Linked DNA regions of Homo sapiens: regions 2, 3 and 4 are each linked to region 1. Evidence: promoter capture Hi-C in human tissues and cell types (Jung and others, 2019). All regions are on one chromosome and are shown on one strand. Each heading gives the region's core, a stretch centred on a gene start or on the middle of the fragment in contact. The rest is flanking DNA. Distances are from core to core; before and after follow the strand shown.

Region 1 (3,461 bases), core at 229-2,728:
TGGCTGTGCTAATTTCTCCAGGAAATATTCACAGAATATTGAATTTATCATTGTAAGGTGTGGAGCAATGAAGATGCCCAAGAGGCCAGGCGCACACCTGTAATCCCAACACTTTGGGAGGCTGAGGCTGGAGGATCACTTAAGCTCAGGAGTTTGAGATCAACCTGAACAACCGAATGAGACCTCATCTCTACCAAAAATAAAAAACTAGCCAGGCATGGTGGCAGGCACTTGTAGTCCCACCTACTTAGGAGGCTGAGGTGGGAGGATTGCTTGAGTCTGGGAGGTTGAGGCTGCATTGAGTAGCCATCGCACCACTGCACTCCAGCTTGGGCGACAGAGTGAGACCCCGTCTCAAAAAAAGATGGCTAAAACATAATTTTTTTTTTTTTGAGATGGAGTCTCACTGTGTCTCAGGCTGGAATGCAGTGGCACGATCTTGGCTCACTGCAAACTCTGCCTCCCGGTTCAAGCAATTCTCCTGCCTCAGCCTTTCAAGTAGCTGGGATTACAGGCATGCGCCACCATTCCTGGCTAATTTTTGTATTTTTAGTAGAGATAGGATTTCACCATGTTGGCCAGGCTGGTCTTGAACTCCTGACCTCGTGATCCACCTGCCTCAGCCTCTCAAAGTGCTGGGATTACAGGCATGAGCCACCGCGCCCGGCCTGCCTAAATCATAATTTCTATGACAGAATTTCTCATTTACAGCTTCCCCTGAGACCATCTTTCATTTCAGTTAACCCTGCTCCTTGGGGGTTATATGTGAGATAAAAGTGCCATGCTATATCATGTTCCCTGGCTCAGTCCTACACAGCATGTCCTGAAAAATGGGTCTTCAGTCACTGTCAATGCACCAGGGATAGATATACATAGTACTGAGAGCCTCTAAATCTTTAATAAGTTCTGGCTTGGTTAGCTCCCTTACAAGGAAAACCTTGCTGGAGTCCATAGCAGTGTGAGGAAGCCTTGGCCATGCCTCATCCCATTTCCCGCACGCTGGAAGACATCTGCCTCTCTCTCCTGGTGCAGTCGTGCCTTGCCTGGTCTGGGCTCCCCTCCTGCTCTGAGGCAAGCGTATCTCTCCATTGAACACTGAGTCTGAAATGCCCTGCACACACTTGTGATCCCGTGCAGAAGGAAGGAGCAGGGACAGCCCCTTGAATGAGGAAGCTAACAGTGCCTCTTCTAACAATAAGGAGCAAGTCGCCTTGAAATGCAAATATCTGATGACCAGGGCTCAAGGAAGGCGCTCGCTTAGAGAGGCTGTTCGCTTAGAGAGGCTGCTCGCTTAGAGAGGCTGCTCGCTCAGAGACGCTGTGGCCAGAACAAGTCAGACATGATCTGCAGGACCCGGTTACCCAGGGCTTCTGCTGTCACTCAGCACGGAGGAGGCGGGGCCTGGCGCCCCATCCAATCAGGGGTGCTGGGGCGGGGCCCTGTCAACTGTCCATCCGGGGAAGGGGGAAGGGACAGTCGCCCTCCGTCCATTCCTTTAGTGCTGCGCCGACAGCGGTCAGGATCTCGGCTTTCTTGCTTCGAGAGGGACTAGGTGCCTCCACCAGAGCTTCTGTCGCTCTGTAACCTGCACTGTGACCTACACTAGTCGCGGGAGCCACGCAGAGGACGCCGGAACACCCTGGAAGCCGAGAAATGGTGTGTGTGAGGGGGCTGGCGTCCGGGCGACTGGGAGAGGGGCTGGAATCGGCCGGAACCGGCTGAGGCGGGACCCGGGCCTCCACGCGGCGACTCCGGGGTCGTGGACGCGAGTCCCCTCGGTCGCAGGGTGGGGCTGGGCCGGCAGCCGGGACCCCGGGCCTCCTGTCCCGTCCCTTCACGGCGACTGCGGCCCCGGCTCCGGAGCCTAATCTGGGCAGCTCCGCGTCTCCCCACATTATGCGGGGGCCACGGGAGGGATATGGGGGGATCCCGCCTCGGATATGGGGTTTGTTAGAAACAAGTGCCCGGTGCCGCAAAGAAAACCAGCATCTAGGCAGAAAATTCCTCAGCAAAGCAAATTTATTTCTACACAAGGGTGCAGCTTGCGCCAGTCACAAGAGCACAGCGAGCGGGGTAGGGCAGGGGTTTTTCTCCTTAACGCAGTTTCTAGCACTTCTGTGTCCTTTCCTCATTGGCTAGGGTTGGACCTCACAATCTAAACTAACTCGATAGGCTAAGGTTTAAAATTAAATAGGGTCTGGCCAGGCGCGGTGGGTCACGCCTGTAACCCCAGCACTTTGGGAGGCCGAGGCAGGCGGATCGCGAGGTCAGGAGATCGAGACCATCCCTGGCTAACACGGTGAAACCCCGTCTCCACTAAAAATACAAAAAAATTAACTGGGTATGGTGGCGGGCGCCTGTAGTTCCAGCTACTCGGGAGGCTGAGGCAGGAGAATGGCGTGAACCCGGGAGGTGGAGCTTGCAGTGAGCCGAGATCGCACCACTGTACTCCAGCCTGGGCAACAGAGCGAGACAACTGGGCAACTCCGTCACACACACACACACACACACACACACACACACACACACACAAATTAAATAGGGTCTATGAGACGGGAAGGAACAGGGACTGTCCGTTACTAGGCGGGAAGGCGTATCTGGACTTGTCTGGGCGCGGCAAAAGCGGGAAGGTTGTTTACAGAACAGGTAGCTAGGAGACAAGGAAGTCGGTCTCAAGAAACAAAGAACAGCTTACTAAAGCTTTTAGAAAAGTAATTTATCATCTCTGACAGGTTCGTGTGGGAGGAGTAGCGGTCTTTGGGGTCCCCAGTGCCCACTTTTTTCTGTTAAAAATTAAACTGAGGTACGTTAACAATTAAAGAGTTTAGGGCCGGGCGCGGTGGCTCACGCCTGTAATCCCAGCACTTTGGGAGGCCGAGGCGGGCGGATCAGGAAGTCAGGAGTTCAAGACCAGCCTGGCCAACATGGTGAAACCCCATCTCTACTAAAAATACAAAAATTAGCTGGGCATGGTGGCGCGTGCCTGTAATCCCAGCTACTTGAGAGGCTGAGGCAGAAGAATTGCTTGAACCCAGGAGGCGGCGGTTGCAGTCAGCCAAGACGGCGTCACTCCAGCCTGGCAACAGAGCCAGACTCCATCTCAAAACAACAACAACGATTCACGAATGAGAAACACCCAGTCCTGGCTTGTGGTTTGTCAACGGAAAAAGCCAAGCTATGTAAAATAAAGAAGTTTATTAGGAGCCGAATAGGAGAGCCGTTGGCCGAGGGAAACACAACCCCAAGCAGCCTGGAGTAAGTGGTCCCGAGGCAGCTCAAGACAGTTTGGTTTTATTCATTTCAGAGAGACAGGAATTGCAGGGAAAATCATGAATCAGTGCCTGGAAGGTGTAAGTTCCATTGGCAGAAAGGGTGGGACCTGTGGAAGGGGGGTTAGAAGGCACAGGTAGTTGAGGGATTCTGTAGGTGGCAGCTGGTTGAGAGTGTTGAATCTTTGTCTA
Region 2 (3,473 bases), core at 973-3,472, 520 kb before region 1:
ACGGGCCGCCGCCAGGAGACGCGCGAGGCTGTAGATGCGGCTTTGCAGAGAAGCTGGGAGGGTAGAGGGGCTGGGGCGGTCGAGGGGCGGGGCTGCGTGCAGCCGGCCCAGATTCCTTTCCGGCCAGTTCCTTCCAGGAGCTGCTCCCACGTCTACAGCGCCGTCTGCTACTCACCCAGCTCTCTTGTATCTGAGCCTCATTTTCCCACCGTCCTTTAAGCCCGTTTTCCCACTGCTCATTTGCAGCCAAGTTTCCATCTCGCATCTTTGCGTCCCCCTTCTCTGCACCCTCCTTTGCACCCCCATTTTCCTGCTTTCCCTTGAGTCCACATTTCCCAGACCTCCTTTGCCCCCTACATTTTCCAATGCTCTCTTGCATGCCCATTTATCACCCTCTTTTGTGCCCCCATTTCCAGGCCCTCAGCCCCTGGTTCTGAGGTTCCTTACTTCAAATGACCTTTTTTTTTTTTTTTTTTTTTTCCTGAAACGGAGGAGTCTCCCTCTGTCTCCCGGGCTGGAGTGCAGTGATGTGGTCTCGGCTCACTGCAACCTCCGCCTCCCGGGTTCAAGAGATTCTCCTGCCTCAGCCTCCCGAGTAGCTGGGACTGCAGGCACCCGCCACCACAACCGGCTAATTTTTTGTATTTTTAGTAGAGACAGGGTTTCACTGCATTAGCCAGGATGGTCTCGATCTCCTGACCTCGTGATCTACCCACCTCGGCCTCCCAAAGTGCTGGGATTACTGGCGTGAGCCACCGCGCCTGGCTTCAAATGACCTCTTAAATAAAGGTGTGGAAGGACACACTCCTGGCTGTGAACAGCACCCGTGGTCCAGGAGGAGACAGCACTCCTCTGTGAACATCTTGCTTAGTTCTACATGTTCCAAGAAGCAGGCGATTTGACAGACATTCATTAAATTAATTAAAGTGTAAGGTATTTTCTCCCATTTGAACCATCCGCCTTCCCCCAATCCATGCAGGACCTGGACCCAGACACACCCCAGCCCAGGGCTGGACAGAGAGGGGATCGGGGTGGGGCAATGTGAAGCTGCTATGGTTAGGGTGGGGAGGTATGGGGGCAAAGTGGGCTACAGACTGCAGGATCTAGGCCTGGAGGTCTTCAGTGCTGACATACAGAAGGTTTTTGGTCCTGAAATGCTAACTACATCTATCACCATGGAGAAAAGCCCAATGACCTGCTACTTGGGAGGCTAAGGTGGGAGGATCACTTGAGCCAGGGAGGTCGTGGCTGCAGTAAGCCATGATCACACCACTGCACTCCAGCCTGGGCAATGGAGCAAGATCCTGTCTCAAAAGAAAAAAACCCAGTGACCAATGGCTCACAGTTCCAGGACTCTCTGCCTTACAGGTTCCTGCCCTCATGTTACTCTTGGGGCTTCAAAGCCTGGTCTTGCTTCCTGTGTGGCCTCAGGCAGTTCCCTTGGCCTCTCTGAGCCCTGTATGAAGGATGGGCCAAGTATGGGCTTGGGCTTGGGAGGCCCGGTGGCTTGTAGCTAGATTTCTGCATCACAGAGCCTCTGGATCCATTCATTCATTCTCCGCGGGTTTCTTAAGTACTGCAGTGCCAGGCTTTGGGGACACAGCTGTTTTTGTTTTTGTTTTGTTTTGTTTGAGACAGAGTCTCACTCCGTCAACCAGGCTGGAGTGGAATGGCACGACCTCAGATCACTGCAACCTCCACCTCCTGGGTTCAAGTGATTCTCCTGCCCCAGCCTCCCAAGTAGCTGGGATTATAGGCGTGTGCCACCACACCCAGGTAATTTTTGTATTGTTTGTATTGTTAGTAGGTCTCAAACTCCTGACCTCAGGTGATTCGCCCGTCTCCGCCTCCCAACATGCTTTGACTACAGGTGTGAGCCACTGCGCCTGGCAGGGGTCACAGCTGTTAATAGGACAGCCCAAGTTCCCCCCTCCCCCGCTTGGATCCCCCAGTCTACTAGGAGATGTCAACTGTGCAAGTGGTTAGCTCTGGGCACTATGCCCACAGGGTCCTGGTGGCATCTGGAGGGTACCAGGGTAGCATACCATGCCTGTTCTCTTTCCCTGCTGTGACCTGTTTGAAGGATGAGGAGCCAACAGGGGGCAGTTTGGGGCACCTGATTTCCCTGGACCATGAGCCTTGCTCCAGAACCCAATTGTGATGTGATAAAAGGCTTATGACCAGGGCAGGGGGCAGCTGCTGGGCCGCCTTGGACAACCATCAGGCAGCCAGGACACAGAGGGGCAGAGCAAGTCAGCATTGGCGCCCCTTCCTCAGATCCCTATCATCTTGGGAAACAGTAGCCCAGAGGTTCAGGAAGATGTTAACTTAAATGTTCAGGGTGCCCCAGTCTGTTCAGCATGGCTGAAATCCACACTCCGTATTCTTCCTTGAAGAAACTGTTATCTTTACTCAATGGCTTCGTGGCTGTAAGTATGTCACAATCCAGGCCCCTGGTTTGTTGCAGCCCTTCCTCCACAGTCAGCTCCCTGAAAGACAGAAATAAGTTGATCCAAATTGGCATCGAGATCTGTGGTTCCCTGGAGAAGCAGGAGGGATGTAGGGCAGACGGAGGAGGAGGAGCAGGGAGCGTGGGGACCTCCATCAACCGAGAGCTGGTGAAATCCAGCACAGATGAGTGTGATCTGGGGGAGCCCAGGTGGGTGATGGAAGAGCTTGGCTCTAAGTCAAATCCTGTAGCCGACCAAGTTGTTTGGGAAGGCCAGGAGAAAGGGTTATTTTCTTGATCTTTTAAATTTGTCACATTTTTTTCCTTACCGTAAAAGTAACCCGAAATGTACATTGCTAAGGAATTGTCAGGCCGGGGGCGCTGGCTCATGCCTGTAATCCCAACGCTTTGGGAGGCCAAGGCGGGTGGATCACGAGGTCAGGAGTTCAAGACCAGCCTTGGTCAATATGGGGAAACCCCATCTCTACTAAAAATACAAAAAAATTAGATGGGCGTGGTGGCACGTGCCTATAATCCCAGCTACTCAGGAGGCTGAGGCATGTGAATTGCTTGAACCTGGGCGGCAGAGGTTGGCAGTGAGCCGAGATTGTGTCACTGCACTCCAGCCTGGGCAACATAGCGAGACTCTGTCTCAATAAAAAAATAAAAGAATAAAAACATAAAAAGAAGTAATTGTCTTCATTGTAGCATAGTCTAAGGAAAAGCTGCCAGGAAAGAGAAGGAAATGAAATATCACTCCTCCTCTTCACTTGTAACATTTTAAAGAGAATTAAGGCCGGCTGTGGTGACTCATGCCTGTAATCCCAGCACTTTGGGAGGCCGAGGTGGGCAGATCCATTGAGCCAGGAGCTCGAGACCAGCTATAGTGAGATCCCCATCTCTATTTAAAAAATAATAATACAAAATAAAGTGTTATTGGAACATGGCCGTGCTCACTTATTTGGAGATTGTGAACAGCTGCTTTTGGGCTACACCAATAGAACTGCGTAGTTTCAACAGACAC
Region 3 (3,028 bases), core at 115-2,614, 680 kb after region 1:
TCCCAGCACTTTGGGAGGCCGAGGTGGGTGGATCATTTGAGGTCAGGAGTTCGAGACCAGCCTGGCGAACATGGTGAAACCCTCGTCTCTACTAAAAATACAAAAATTAGCTGCATGATGGCCTGTGCTTGTAGTCCCAGCTACTCAGGGGGCTGAGGTGGGAGGCTCACTTAAGCCCAAGCCCTGGAGGTCGAGGCTGCGGTGAGCTATGATCTCGCCACTGCGCTACAGCCTGGGTGACAGAGGGAGACCCTGTCTCAAAAAAATAAACATCAATAGCGGTTGAAAGCCCCATGACTGGGGAGCAGCAGCCAGAGACTAGTGACTTCAAGCTAAGACCACTCTTGAGCCTGCAAAGGGAGGTCATTGAAAGCCCAGATGGGTCTTCCTGGGGAGCCTTCCCCAAAAGTGTCCTACTTGCTCTCACCCACCAAGGAAAGAGCTCTTTATACAGAGAGAAGCTACAGAGCACTGGAATGCTGGGAACCGCACGCGGTTTTAGGAGAACCGGGAGGGTTTTAATTGTCTAGGTTGTAATTGTAGTTTCCTTGGGTCTACTTTTAGACATTAGGTTTGAGTTTTGCTTTCACATTAGGGTACACTCGTGGTGTAATTTTTCCATATTGAAAAAGTCTGTGAAAGTTACAAGTTCTGTCTCCTGGACATGGTGTTAATGACTTTGGGAGTTCATTTGTGTCAGAACCTTCATCTGAATCCAGCTGACAGTTTCGTCACTTACGAGAACCAGTGGGAAGGGGCATTCTCTGCTCCCGGAGTTCATTCCTGTGGCTGCTCAGGTGTCCCTGCTGTCACCAGGGACTATTCCACTCTAGGGACTATACCCTAACAGGGAGAGAGTGTGGACTCCAAGCTTTGGTATGTGTTTAACCTTCTGGATGTTGGTTTTTCTTCTGAATTGCGGAGAAGCAGGCTGCTTATCTGAGCTGATTCAATGTTTGTGTTTCTTTCCTTTGGATTCCTTTTTCTATTGAATATTGCAGCACTTTAACTCCAGTTTCCTTTAACATTTTGTAATTTTATTCCCTGTATGAGTCTGTAGGATTTTTAGTTTGTTGGTCTTTGAAAATTTAAGTTGATTGAGAAATATGATGTAAGAGAAGCAAATCCTGGAACCAAATAGAATTTTTATTCCTTTCAGGCAAAAGAAGCTCATGGTGTGAGATGGATATGTTTAACTTCTCAGGTGCATTTTTATTTTTACATTAGTTTGTGTGTGTGCATATCCCTAGAAAACTTTCAAACTTCAAAGGCTCTACTATTCCCAGGGCAAATGGATTCCTGTTTTAATTGATACGAGGAAAACTACTCCTCAAAGCTTGTGTAATCTTTGAAAAATTCTACTACATTTAATGGTTATATCCAAACCCTAATGTATTATAATATGCTACTCTTTTTTTGAGACTGAGTCTTGCTCTGTTGCCCAGGCTGGAGTGCAGTGGCGCCATCTCGGCTCACTGCAAGCTCCACCTCCCGGGTTCACGCCATTCTCCTGCCTCAGCCTCCCGAGTAGCTGGGACTACAGGTGCCCATCACCACGCCTGGCTAATTTTTTTGTATTTTTAGTAGAGCTGGGGTTTCACCATGTTAGCCAGGATGGTCTCGATCTCCTGACCTCGCGATCCGCCCGCCTCGGCCTCCCAAAGTGCTGGGATTACAGGCGTGAGCCACCGCGCCCAATCTATAATATGCTACTCTTTCCTGAAAATACCCCTCAGTGTGAGATACAGTGGACAGACATGCTATGATGCAGATTCTCTTAAGATTTGAAATTTTACATTTCGTATAGTTTACACTTTTAAAAGTGTATAAAGGATTAAATCTTAATGAAGACAACTTAAAATTTAAAAAAAACTACATTATTTAAAGACTTTAATAGTAAAATATAGTGCAGATAAATATCTTCGTTCATTTTATTTTTTTATTTTTTATTTTTTTTGAGACGGAGTTTTACTCTTGTTGCCCAGGCTGGAGTGCAATGGCACAATCTTGGCTCACAGCAACCTCCACCTCCCAGGTTCAAGTGATTCTCCTGCCTCAGCCTCCCGAGTAGCTGGGATTACAGGCATGTGCCACCATGCCCAGCTAATCTTTTTGTATTTTTAGTAGAGATGGGGTTTCTCCATGTTGGTCAGGCTGGTCTCGAACTCCTGACCTCAGGTGATCTGCCTGCCTCGGCCTCCCAAAGTGCTGGGATTACAGGCGTGAGCCACCGTGCCCGGCCTTTTTAATGTATATTTTTAGACAGGGTCTTGCTCTGTCACCCAGGATGGAGTACAGTGGCACGATCGATCATAGCTCACTGCAGCCTCAGCCTCCCCTGCTCAAGTGATCCTCCCAACTCAGCCTCCTGAGTAGCTGGAACTACAGGCACATACCACCATGCCTGGCTAATTTTTGTATTTTTTGTAGAGGCAGGGTTTCACCAACCGGCAGGGTTGCCCGGGCTGGTCTTGAACTCTTGAGTTCAAGTGATCCTCCTAGCTCGGCCTCCCAAAGTGCTGGGATTACAAGTGTGAGCCACTGCACCAGGCCTCCATTCATTTTAGAGAGATAATACATGTGAAGGTTAAAAAAAAAAATCTATGAGACAGGAAAATCTAACATAAGACTCACTGTCAAGCATATCCTGGTTCATTCCAGGATTCTTGCTCCAGCCACCCCGCCCTTCGTAAAAACTTTTGGTAATTCCTTGTGCATCCTATTAGTGTTTCTTTATTAAAACAAGCAATTGCAGGCCAGGCGCGGTGGCTCACACCTGTATTCCCAGCACTTTGGGAGGCCGAGGCAGGCGGATTACCTGAGGTCTGGAGTTCGAGACCAGCCTGACCAACATGGAGAACCCTTGTCTCTACTAAAAATACAAAATTAGCTGAGCGTGGTGGCGGGTGCCTGTAGTCCCAGCTACTCAGGAGGCGGGCGCCTGTAGTCCCAGCTACTCGGGAGGCTGAGGCAGGAGAATCACTAGAACCCAGGAGACTGAGGTTGTGGTAAGCTGAGATTACGCTAT
Region 4 (3,309 bases), core at 268-2,767, 550 kb after region 1:
GGGTGTACGAACAGGGAGTAAGTCACAAAGATCACATGCCTCAAAGGGCAATAAAAGATCACAAGGCAAAGGCAAAATTAGAATTACTGATGAGGGTCTGTGTCCTGCTGTGCATGCACTGTCTTGATAAACATCTTAACAGGAAACAGGGTTCGAGAGCAGACAACCAGTCTGACTAGAATTTACCAGGCTGGAACTTCCCAATCCTAGTAAGCCTGAGGGCACTGCAGGAGACCAGGGCGTATTTCAGTCCTTATCTCAACTGCATTAAGACAGATACTCGCAGAGCAGCCATCTATAGACCTACCCCCAGGAATGCATTCCTTCCCCAGGGTCTCAATTATTATTATTATATATATTTTTTTGAGACAGAGTCTCACGCTCTGTCCCCCAGGCTGGAGTGCAGTGGCACAATCTCGGCTCACTGCAACTTCTGCCTCCTGGGTTCACACTGTTCTCCTGCCTAAGCCTCCCAAGTAGCTGGGACTACAGGCGCGTGCCACCATGCCCGGCTAATTTTTTGTATTTTTAGTAGAGAAGGGGTTTCACCGTGTTAGCCAGGATGGTCTCGATCTCCTGATATTGTGATCCACCCGCCTCGGCCTCTCAAAGTGCTGGGATTACAGGCATGAGCCACCACACCTGGAAGGGTCTCAATTATTAATATTCCTTGCTGGGAAAAGAATTCAGTGATATTTCTCCTACTCACATGTCCGTCTATAGGCTCTCTGCAAGAAGAAAAATATGGCTTTATTCTGCCCAACCCCACAGGCAGTCAGACCTTATGGTTATCTTTCCTTGTTCCCAGAAAATCGCTGTTATTCTATTCTTTTTCAGGGTGCACTGATTTCATATCATTCAAATACAAATGTTTTACAAACAATTTGTACAGTTAATGCAATCATCACGGGGTCCTGAGGTGACATACATCCTTAGCTTACGAAGATAACAGGATTAAGAGATTAAAGTAAGACAGGCATAAGAAATTATAAAAGTATTAATTTTGGGAACTAATAAATGTCCATGAAATCTTCACAATTTATGTTCAGAGACTGCAGTAAAGACAGGCGTAAGAAATTATAAAAGTATTAATTTTGGAAACTGATAAATGTCCATGAAATCGTCACAATTTATGTTCTTCTGCCGTGGCTTCAGCCGGTCCCTCCATTCGGGGTCCCTTAGTTCCCGCAACAGACTACAAGATTGACTGCAACTAATGTATAACCTGGCAGGATCCACGACGGAGAAGTCCCTTCACCAAATGGGACAATAATTCAAGAGGGGCAACCAGAGCAAGTCACGCCACCTGGTACCTCTAGCCCCGCTTGCCTCTTCTGCATTCCAAACCCTTTCTTTAAAAACCCCTGGGTTCTCTCCACAAATTGAACAGTGGAATTGCTTTCTGCTCTTCCCCTGCTAGGACAGATAATAAAGAAATCTCGTTCCCTCTTATCACAACTCATTATTATTTTGACTTCTTTCCACACGCGGTGAGCAGCCAGACCCTTTTGCCAGTTACAAGTGGGATCAGCACCTGGTGATGGGGCAGAGGCACTGAAGGATTTAGGGATGAGGGAGCTCAACTTGCCCTCCTGTGTCCTCTGCGCAGTGTGAAAATGCTCTCTCCTTCAAGACTTTAAATATTAATGAATTAAATGCTCCAATCAAAAGCCAAGGCATTAGAATTTGAAAATATAAAGATTTCCCATATTTGTATGAAATACAAGTGTCACTGGTAAACTGAGTTCTTTCTCTAGTTTGTATGAGTCACAAAGAAAGAATACCTAATGGAACAAAAAAAAAAGGCAAGCAGGATTTATTTTCTGGCCAGAGAAGGAGAAGGGGTCAGAGTCAGCTCTTGCTCCGAAGATACTTCCTCCTCCTAGAGCTGTGGGAAGCTGGGTAATTTTAAGCAGCTAGATATGGGAAGGGGAAGTTTGTAATATGGGTAGAAAGGAACTTCAGATGTTCACAAATCATAAACATGTCTCTTTATACCACACATGTTCAAAAGGCCAGCCGGGTGCAGTGGCTCACGCCTGTAATCCCAGCACTTTGGGAGGCCGAGGCGGGTGGATCACCTGAGGTCGGGAGTTTGAAACCAGCCTGACCGACATGGAGAAACCCCATCTCTACTAAAAATACGAAATTAGCCAGGCATGGTGGTGCACGCCTATAATCCCAGCTACTTGGGAGGCTGAGGCAAGAGAATCGCTTGAACCCAGGAGGCAGGGGTTGCAGTGAGCACTCCAGCCTGGGCAACAAGAGCGAAACTCCATCTCAAAACAAAACAATGGGCCGGGCGCAGTGGCTTACACCTGTAATCCTAGCACTTTGGGAGGCTGAGGCAGGCGGATCACGAGGTCAGGAGATCGAGACCATCCTGGGTAACATAGTGAAACCCCGTCTCTACTAAAACAATAAAATAAAATAAAAATTAGCTGGGCGTGGTGGTGCATGCCTGTAATCCCAGCTACTCAGGAGGCTGAGGCAGGAGAATCACTTGAACCCAGGAGGCAGAAGTTGCAGTGAGCTGAGATCGTGTCACTGCACTCCAGCCTGGCGACAAAGCTAGACTCCATCTAAAAAAAAAAAAACACGACGAGAAAGCTGCCGTGACTTTCTTCTGTGGGTGGGGATTTTCATCTTACAATAAGGTATCAGTGATCTAAACCAGCAGTTCCTAACCTTTTTGGCACAGGGACTAGTTTCTTAGAAGATAATTTTTCCATGTACTGGAGTGGGGATGGTTTTGGGGTGATTCAAGTACATTACATTGATTGTGCACTTAAATATTATTACATTGTAATATATAATGATGTAATTGTACAGCTCGCCATACTATAGAATCAGTGGGAGCCCTGAGCTTGTTTTCCTGCAACTAGATGGTCCCTTCTGGGGGTGGTGGGAGACAGTGACAGATCTTCCAGAATCTCATAAGGTGCATGCAACCTGGATCCCTTGTGTGCGCAGCTCACAATAGGGTTCGTGCTCCTATGAGAATCTAATGCTGCCTCTGATATGACAGAAGGCAGAGCTCAGGTAGTAATGTGAGTGATGGGAAGTGGCTGTAAATACAGGTAAAGCTTTGCTTACTCGCCCGCTGCTCACCTTCTGCTGTGTGGCCTAGCTCCTAACAGGCCACAGTCTGGTACCGATCCATGGCCCAGGGATTGGGGATCCCTGATCTAAAGGCAACAAGGGGTCACTGGTTCTGGTTTACTCTGGTTTTGAGCAGGCCTTATCTTATTCTGATAATTGGCAAAGGGTCCTGAAGCTCCCAGGCCATCTGGAGTCCTAGTAAGCTAG

Evidence for each region. The method cuts DNA at HindIII sites, captures the fragments that hold promoters and counts their contacts. A contact is called where the count stands out against the background at its distance.
Region 2: the fragment with the promoter of TSPAN16 here is called in contact with the fragment with the promoter of ZNF440 in region 1 in 1 of the 25 tissues and cell types used here (bladder).
Region 3: a contact is called between a fragment that was not itself captured here and the fragment with the promoter of ZNF440 in region 1, in 2 of the 25 tissues and cell types used here (dorsolateral prefrontal cortex and pancreas).
Region 4: a fragment that was not itself captured here is called in contact with the fragment with the promoter of ZNF440 in region 1 in 1 of the 25 tissues and cell types used here (spleen).

The regions. Positions count from the first base shown.
Region 1 is chr19:11,812,795-11,816,255 of GRCh38, forward strand. ZNF440 (zinc finger protein 440) reads left to right here and starts at 1,479. Exons shown (of 4, transcript NM_152357.3): 1 at 1,479-1,656. The coding sequence starts at 1,654. RefSeq lists silencers at 1,314-1,393, 1,814-1,883. The HindIII fragment of the contact is 18,958 bases long and covers 1-3,461 here.
Region 2 is chr19:11,293,938-11,297,410 of GRCh38, forward strand. It overlaps TSPAN16 (tetraspanin 16), which reads left to right and starts at 2,223. Exons shown (of 7, transcript NM_001282509.2): 1 at 2,223-2,429. The coding sequence starts at 2,361. The HindIII fragment of the contact is 22,007 bases long and covers 1-3,473 here.
Region 3 is chr19:12,496,414-12,499,441 of GRCh38, forward strand. No RefSeq gene overlaps it. Among named protein-coding and RNA genes, the nearest start is that of ZNF709, 13 kb to the left of the region's middle. The HindIII fragment of the contact is 4,297 bases long and covers 1-3,028 here.
Region 4 is chr19:12,367,320-12,370,628 of GRCh38, forward strand. It overlaps a transcript of ZNF442 not described here. Among named protein-coding and RNA genes, the nearest start is that of ZNF442, 3.3 kb to the left of the region's middle. The HindIII fragment of the contact is 4,297 bases long and covers 1-3,309 here.